Regions from separate parts of the Homo sapiens genome. Here regions 1 and 2 are each linked to region 3. Evidence: promoter capture Hi-C in 16 types of primary human blood cells and fetal thymus (Javierre and others, 2016). All regions are on one chromosome and are shown on one strand. Each heading gives the region's core, a stretch centred on a gene start or on the middle of the fragment in contact. The rest is flanking DNA. Distances are from core to core; before and after follow the strand shown. Region 1 holds the start of LRRC1 (leucine rich repeat containing 1). Region 2 holds the start of TRAM2 (translocation associated membrane protein 2). Region 3 holds the start of CENPQ (centromere protein Q).

Region 1 (2,700 bases), core at 70-2,569, 4.3 Mb after region 3:
TTCCGACCAAACTTTGCCTTGGCCACTGAGCATGCTCAGCTTTGTCTTCTATAGAAAAGTGAACTCCGTGGCTCCAGATTTTAGCTATAGCAGCTGGAGGGCGGGAGTGAGTGTGGGAGAGCCAGCGTGGCAGCGGCCGCAGGTGGAAACCTGGAGTTTGAGTATGCTTGAAAGGGAAAGTGTGGAACGAAGGGGCGGCCGGGTGGGGAATCAGAGAAGCCCCCAAGGAAATGATTCATCATTGTGATTGACCTTGACTTTAGCAACCCTTCATTAAAGGAGAAAATTTGGTTATTCGGAGATGGGGACTGTGTTGCAAACAGTTACAGGCAAAGAGGGGCAGTTCAGGATTCCGGCCGTGGTCCGCAGGAATGAGTCGGGGCGAGGGAATGGTTGTTATAACCCAATAGTGAGCCTCCCCGGTCATCCGGGCTGGACGGGACTGGGGTTGTAGCAGAAAAGCAGGAGCTGTATGGAGGATGCTCACCTGGCAGCCTCGATCTGCCCCTCTTCCCTCGCTCCTCCCTCCGCACCAGCCACAGCTAGTTGTCAGGGGCCAACATCTGGGCCGGGCTGGAACTGGCTCAGAAACTCGCGTTTGCCTGCTTATTTCTGCAGCTGGGCTCCTTGCCAGGTGCAACCACATCTATGAGAATCTCGCAGACTCTCAGACTCCTATGCCTTTGCTGGTACAGGGAGGAGGATTTACTATCACTCACTGCATAAACCATGATCACCAGAGATGTGCTCCCAAGTTACAAAGCCTGCAGGCGGTGCCCGAGGACCAGAGGGCCGGGCGCGGCCAGCTCACACTTCTGGGGCAGCCGTGAGCAGCGGGCACACGGGCAGCCACGAAAGCAGCAGCGAGGGTGGTGCAAACACCTCAAAACTACACCGAATCCAGTAGCGCCTGGCGCCCCCGGCGCGCAAGGTACGCTTTGGGGCGGTCCTGTGTGACCCCGGAAGAGAAAGTTGTTTTGGGGAAGGGGAGCAAGGAGAGGAGTGCGAGTTAAATAAAACTAAATATCAAAGTTGTTCTGCTCTGCTCAGGCCGCCTCTACTCCGCCTCATCTTTGTCCCAAGTCCTTTCACAGTCTGCCTTCCTCAAACGGCCCGATGCGCCCCCGTCTTTGCCGGAGTAAGCAGACCGCCAGCAGCCGGCCCGCAGGTCAGTCGACCCTCTCTGGATGCAGGTCGCCGGGAAAACCCGGAGCGGAGCATCCCTCGGGCCGGGAAACGCCCTCGGCGCGCACCCACTGGCGCGCATGCTCAGTCCGCGCGGCGGCTGCGAGTAGGAAGCTCCGCGCGGCGGCGGGGGCGGCGACGGCGACTGGCGGGTGGGAGTGGAGGCACCGGCTGGCGGGCGGGGGTACAGGGACGGGGCAGGGGCTCCCGCTCCAGGTTCCTTGAAGCACTTCCGACCGCGAAGCCCGGCGCGAGAAGCGAGCTAACCCAAGAGCCAACAACGAGCGCGGAGAGGGCAGCGGACTGAGCGGAGCCGCCGGCCAGAGCGGGCTCGGAGCCCGGGTCTCCGCCGCTCGGGACCCGGCTAGGCGGCGGCGGGGGCGGCGATGTTCCACTGCATCCCCCTGTGGCGGTGCAACCGTCATGTGGAGAGCATCGACAAGCGCCACTGCTCGCTGGTCTACGTCCCCGAGGAGATCTACCGCTATGCCCGGAGCCTGGAGGAGCTGCTGCTGGACGCCAACCAGCTCCGCGAGCTGCCCGAGGTAAGGGTCCGGCCTCACCTGAGCGCTCTGCCCGCTCGTCTGCTGTCCCTTCCGCTCCCATCCTCTCTCGTCCCCTCTTCCATCTCCGGGTCCGGCGTGAAGGAACCTTCCCTCTTTTATGCATTCACCTGCTTCTTTCTCCCCCTGTCTCTTTACTTCCATCCTTTCCCAGTAAAAGTTCCTTTTCATTTTATTCAAAGTGACCGGATATTTTGCGCGTAGTCACTGGGGCTCGTGCTATTGGAGAAGCGTTCTGGACTGTTAAGTAACTTAGATCCATGCTAGGTACTGACACCTGGCACTTGTGCCCGGTCAGGTGAGAAGCCGGGTGATTCGGGCTGTTTCCATCTGGAAGCTACAGAGCACTGCATCCTCCCCCCCTCCACTCCCCGGGGTCGTTCCCCCACCAAGGGCCGGGCGCGCCTCTCCTTTAGTCAAGGCATGTCCCGGAGGACCTTGTGACCTGGGCAGCGCTCAAGCGGGCCGCACTATCTCGGCATCTTGGGAGGAATGAGGAATGTGCTCCGTGCTTTATCGCGGGTGGGCTTGGCCGGCTGGCCTGCGGTGGCTGCGGGGGTGGACGCGAGATGGGCGCAGGGGAGAGCTGGGCCTGGAGCGCTAGGGGCAGGTGCCCAGATGCCGGCCGCCCGGGCCTTGCCTACGTGGACCTGTTGCGTGGTGGGAGCTGCGGTGAACGTCAGCGGAGGCTCTGCCCGCGGGCCAGCCTTGCAGCCGCCTTTCCCGGAGCGGGCACAGTCGTCCTGCTGACTTTCTCTCCTTGCAGTGATGCGTTATCTCTTCAGAGTTGTTTATGTAAATTGATCACTCCATTGCCGCCGAACTTGTCAAGCGACATGTGCTGATGGTGCTTTGACCGAGAGTAGGGGTACAGCGAACTTCTTTCAAGCTTGCCTCGGGAACTTAGCTAGAGTAACCCCTCGGGGAAGGTGTCTCAAACCCAGGTGTGTGC
Region 2 (2,700 bases), core at 201-2,700, 3.1 Mb after region 3:
TTCGTAGAGATACAGGGAACCCGAGACAGAGGGACAGGGAAGGAAATTTAGCCAGGCAAGCCATCCTCCATCTCCAAGGAAGTTTGTAAATGATCACAGCTTCCTAACCCAACCGTGAGAATGCAATAAGCAAGCTGACGCAGAAGGGAGGACAAGGAGTCTCAGGAACCAGAGGAGACCACGGTGAGAGTGAGGGGAATGTCGCTCACATATCTCACTTCTGAGACAAGATATACCGCAACAAACCCATGCCAAGCTTCCTCCAGTTCTTCCCACTTTTGAATATCACATTTTTCTTGCTCTGCAAGAGTAGGGAATCCTTCCCATCAGTCTTGTGAATTCTGACCCCTTGCTGGCTTTCTACAACTCCCTGCCTGGGAGGCCGACACCAGGACATTGCTGTTGGGGGTGGGATCCCCATCCTCTGCCCCCCACTCCTACACTATAAGAGAATCAACTTTCCCCAAAAAGTGGAGGGTATCCCTGTCTCTCTTCTTGTCTCTGTAAAGGGGGTGAAGCTCTGGGTCGCCGCAGATGGATCTAAAGGGACAGTTCACGGAGTGGTAAAGGATATCCAAAAATTGGCCTTCTAGAGCACAGCAAAAAAGTGGGAGCGAGACGAGAGCAGAAGGCCACTGCTGGGATGGGGCCAGGGCCACACGTGAACATCCGAGCACGTTCCAGAGCTGAGATGCAAAACACCCAGAAAATCACATAGGAAGTGGAAAAGGTTCTGGGTCTCTCCCACTGGAAAAGCCCAGAAGAGCTAGTGGCCACCCCTTGGGGCAAGAGGGGGTTGTGCAATGACTGCGGGTCTGGGAGTCTCTGGGCTTGGCTCCTGGACGCCAGAAAGGGAACCCCACGCGTCAAGCCATGGTGGCAGCGCGGCGGTTGGTTCGAGGCCAGGCTGGGGTTTCAGGGCTGCAGACAGAGCTGCAGGATACGATGAGTGCCCAAGGGGGCGGCAGAGCATGGCATGGCTGGCACGGCGCGGAGCTGGGGGTGCTGTCTGGGCTGGCCGGGGTACAGGCCGGAGGGGTACAGTGCACAAAGCCGGGGTGCAGATAACGTACACGGCAGCCAGGAGCCTCCGATCAGAGGAGGGCCCGCTGACCTGCAGGGGTGTGCCGGGCGGTGCACGACAGGGGGCACTGTCCCTCCAGCTCCCTCCTCCCCAGGCTCTCACCTCGAACATAAGCCCGATGAGGACGCAGAGCACCAGGCAGAAGCCGATGTCCGCATGGTTGTGGATGACGAACTCCTGGCTGAAGAGCGGGTAACTTTTCGTCCTCCTGCGGAAAGCCATGGCAGCGGGCGCGCAGCGGCCGGCGGGGCCCGCACCCTGCGCTCACGAACCGCAGCGCAAACTTCTCCAGCACCGGCCCGGTCCGCCCGCCGGCCCGCCGCCCGCTCTCCCACAGCCGCTCGCCCGCCCAGCGCGGAACAACTTCGGGGCCCGCCCCCTTCCTCCGCCCGCCCCCGGCCGCCCGTAACCGCCCCCGGCCGCAGCCCCCGCCCAGCCCCCGCCCAGCCCGCGGCCCGCACTCGGCGCGCCTGGCCCCGCCCCCCGCGGGCTTAACCCTCTAGCCGCTGGGCACGCGCGGGCTACCGGGGCGGAGGCGTACGGGGGCGGCGAGCGGGGCTCGGCTCCTCCTCGTCCCGCGCCAGCGCCGCGCCCGGCCGCATTCTCGGGGCCCGAGGCTCAGCCGCTCGCGGTGGAGAAAGCAGGCCGCGGAGGAGGCGGGCGCCCAGGCCTGCCCGGACAGGAAGTGGGCCCAGCTTTCCCACTCCTCGCTCCGCTCCTTCCTCCGCGGGAAGGGCAGGCCCCGGAGGCAGCGAGCGCCCCGGGGGTGGCCGGGCAGCCGGATGCTCCCGGGGTTGCGGGCTGTGGCCCCGGGGGCTGAGGGCGGCGCGGGTGCGGCGGAAGCAGGGAAGCCGCGAACCGGCCTTCTGGCTGGCCACAGCGCCCTGCACGGACGATCAGTGAATGGAGATTACTCAAGTATTTATCGAGAACTTGCAGTGGGCTAGGCACAGTTCAGGTAGATCAACAAACCGAAAGACCCTGCCCTAGGGGAGCTTTCGCTCCAATGCGGGGAGAGGGTGGATGATTGCAGTTTTGCCCAGTAATTTTTGGGACCCTCATGCCACCATTAATTAGCTACACACATTTCACCGAAAGTCTACCTTACATATTAATCAGAAGAAGTGGAAGAATAAACACAGAAGAAGCAAAAAAGGAAGGAACTTTCTCACTGAAAGTTTCTATTTAATATTAAGTCTTAAAAGTACTCCTGGAAGGACAAAAGGTGTTCTTAATAAATTATATTCGCAAATATTGGATTTAATCCTACCAGTAATGAAGCAGTCAGTTACTTTCTAGATGTGCAGAAATACGTAATGAACAAAAAAAACTAATTCCTATTCCATTTTTTATTAGGTCCACAGTTATTTCACTTCTAAATAAATATGGTTTTTTAAAAGTGGCACGCGGTGGAATGTAATTGAGACAGGATGGAGTTCCTAGAGAAATTTTACTTCCTCAATCTGCACTCCACCTTACTTAAAATACAGTCTTGGGTCTGTAATTCCCTTATCTGACTCTCAAGGAAATGACAAAGTAATGCCTAGATTGGACTAAACCTCATTTAACTTCAAGGCTGACCTTTCTCAAAGTTGAACCTTCGTCTTGTGAGGAAC
Region 3 (2,700 bases), core at 194-2,693:
TTCAATAGTAATCCTGTAAAAGGTAATTTGAAAACCACCTGAGACTAAACTGTTGGCAGGAAATATCACACTCATTTCACGTGGGCTTTCCTAAATCTGAACAACTAATAGGAAAGAGCCCCGTTTAAGTGACTTCCTGAAAATCACATGTGAATTGGTGGAGGCTGGAAACAGACACCATTTTTAGATAAAAACACAACTACTGCGGATGGCAATACGACCTCTGAATTTTCTCAGAAGACCATCAAGAGAGGCCTCAAGCATTCAAAGAAGCAACATGCAAAGCAAATATGTTACTGACAACTAAAATGAGTTAAAGAGCAATGATTAATCCCACCCCCACACCTCAAAAACAAATCAGTGAGAAAAAGATTTCTTGAACCAATAAGTTTCAAGCTTTGGCTGCTGACGTATGATTGCACATTAATACTTCAAGAAGGTACTTTGATGTTCAACTAGTTGGGTTTGGAGATGGAAACATAGGGCATGAAAATTATATTTGATATTAGCATAAGTACATCATTAAACACAAAATTATATTGGCAGAAAATCATCAAGTGGTTTAAAACTTTACACACATACGTTATCCAGGGCTTCGAGCTTCCCTAAGACCACCTTCTTTCTAGATAAAACTGAGAACGAGTTAGTAATGTAAGCTTTTATGTCAATTTAGACCTGTCTTTTCTATTCTACCTCTCACTCTTAACACTGTTTACACTCTTAATCCTGTTTACACACAGAAAATCACTTTTATTCCCGAAAACTCTTAGAAAAACCCTGACAATAACATAACCCACAACCTAGAAGGGAGGCAGCCATGAAGCAGGCGCATCCCTTTGGAACCATACAAAAAGTGACCTCTGCCAACGGGAACAGTTCAGGGTGCTTAAGTGGCCAAAGAAGATACCGACATGGCCCCTAAAGTATTAAAAGCACCTTCTTTCCAGAAGTACCTCCGAATTGCCAGGGACTTCGCCCAAAACTAGAGGTTGGTCGAAGTGAAAATCTAAACCTAAGGAGAAGGCAGAGAGTGGGATCCCGTCACAGTAGGAAGGTAAAGAAGACAGAAGTAAAGGACAGAGCGGGAGAGAAAGGACAAAAGTTCAAAATACAGGGGTAGAGGAGGGACAGGAGCCAGAAGAATGGAGCGATCTGAAAGGTGTACGTCCTACTCACTGGTAGGCCTGTTTTGGACTCCGCTGTGGGAGAGGGCGGCTGCACTTCTGCGTCCCCCGCCTCACCTGTCAGACATCCACACAGCCAGGCCTCCCCGCCCTCACCAAGCCCACACAAACCGCGCCACCGCCAGCGTCAGCCGGACGACTCTGGGGGCGTAGGCCGACACCGCCCTCCCTCCAGCCAATCTAATAGCGCTCTCATGGGCGCATTCCTGATGACGTTTAGGGGTAGGGTTAGATGCCCGTTTCCGCTTTCTTCCCACCCACTTCCGGGTCTCCTCTGTTTACGAATGTTTGGGCGCGAATTACTCTAAGCGCGGCTCTCAGAAGGGTGCAAGAAGAATCAGTGGTGAGTCGTGATATCCTTAACCGGCTGGGTGGATCTAAAGTTCAGGGATGAGTTTTAAAGCCAACGCGTTTGTGGCAGACTCCGCAGTTTGCATTTGAGGATAGCGAGGGGGGATTGCTTACGGGGAAATGCCCGATGTCCTAAAAGATCTGCCCTTAGGATCCTGAGATTGAGATGTTTGATTAGGGGGGAGGGAGCAAAGCCATGAATACTTCCTATTTCTCCCGAATCATCCTCATGGCTCATCCTCATTGCTAAATTTCTCCCGCGGGCACTAGTGAAGTCAAGTGCAGCCTTGGACATTAGTGTCTGTGTTTCTCCAGGAGTCCTACTCACTCTTGTGCCCACATAGAGGTCTAAATTGAGGTAATTGAGTCCCATGAGTATCAACAAGCTGGTAAGAAAAACAAGACAACCTAGAATGCCTCCCTCTCTCCTAAAGCATATAGTCTGGCGGCAAACTACTGTACCAGCCTTATTTCTTTTCACTTCTCCTATACACATTAAAAGCCTCGCTGGATTATCCTGTCCCTGAACACGCCAGGTTTTTTGTGTTTTTTCCGAGCTTTCCTGCCGTCCGAGTTTTACTGTTTTCCCTTGGATGCTTCATTTTTCTACTTTTTGGCTAAATATTTCAAAATGTTATTAGAATAATACTTTTTCTATGAATAATGTACAAACATACTTCCGAGATATTGCGGGGTCGGTTCCAGACCAATAAAGCCTGTCACACGATTTTTTTGGTTTCCCAGTGCATATAACAGTTGTATTTACACTGTATTGTAACCTATTAAGTGTGCAATAGCATTATGTGTAAAAAAAAATTACATGCTGTAATTTTAAAATATTTTATTGCTAAAAAATGCTACTAATCATCTCAGCCTTCAGCAAGTCCTAATCTTTTTGCTGGTGGAGGGTCTTGCTTGATGTTGATGGCTGTTGACCAATCAGGGTGATGGTTGCTGAAGATTGGAGTTGCTGTGGCAGTTTCTTAAAATAACAAAATAATGAATTTTGTACAGCAGTTGACTCTTCCATTCACTAAAGATTTCTCTGTAGCATGTGATGCTGTTTGAAAGCATTTTACCCACTGTAGAACTTCTTTCAAAATTAGAGTAAATCCTCTTAACCCCTACCATTGCTTTAGCAACTAAGGTTTTGTGATATTCTGAA

The links. Contacts are between HindIII fragments. The CHiCAGO score rates a contact against its expected background, and 5 or more counts as called.
Region 1: the fragment with the promoter of LRRC1 here is called in contact with the fragment with the promoter of CENPQ in region 3 in 1 of 17 cell types (total B cells); the score reaches 6.5 in total B cells.
Region 2: a contact is called between the fragment with the promoter of TRAM2 here and the fragment with the promoter of CENPQ in region 3, in 2 of 17 cell types (total B cells and non-activated CD4 T cells). The highest score is 13.0, in total B cells.

What each region holds. Positions count from the first base shown.
Region 1 is chr6:53,793,686-53,796,385 of GRCh38, forward strand. It overlaps LRRC1 (leucine rich repeat containing 1), which reads left to right and starts at 1,320. Exons shown (of 14, transcript NM_018214.5): 1 at 1,320-1,730. The coding sequence starts at 1,572. RefSeq lists silencers at 11-140, 1,186-1,425 and an enhancer at 1,392-2,104. The HindIII fragment of the contact is 4,441 bases long and covers 1-2,635 here.
Region 2 is chr6:52,575,610-52,578,309 of GRCh38, forward strand. TRAM2 (translocation associated membrane protein 2) reads right to left here and starts at 1,451. Exons shown (of 11, transcript NM_012288.4): 1 at 1,187-1,451. The coding sequence starts at 1,306. TRAM2-AS1 (TRAM2 antisense RNA 1) reads left to right here and starts at 1,593. Exons shown (of 3, transcript NR_103446.1): 1 at 1,593-2,700. RefSeq lists a silencer at 1,164-2,023. The HindIII fragment of the contact is 3,868 bases long and covers 255-2,700 here.
Region 3 is chr6:49,461,927-49,464,626 of GRCh38, forward strand. CENPQ (centromere protein Q) reads left to right here and starts at 1,444. Exons shown (of 9, transcript NM_018132.4): 1 at 1,444-1,527. MMUT (methylmalonyl-CoA mutase) reads right to left here and starts at 1,327. Exons shown (of 13, transcript NM_000255.4): 1 at 1,177-1,327. RefSeq lists enhancers at 510-1,410, 997-1,066, 1,411-2,310. The HindIII fragment of the contact is 2,856 bases long and covers 655-2,700 here.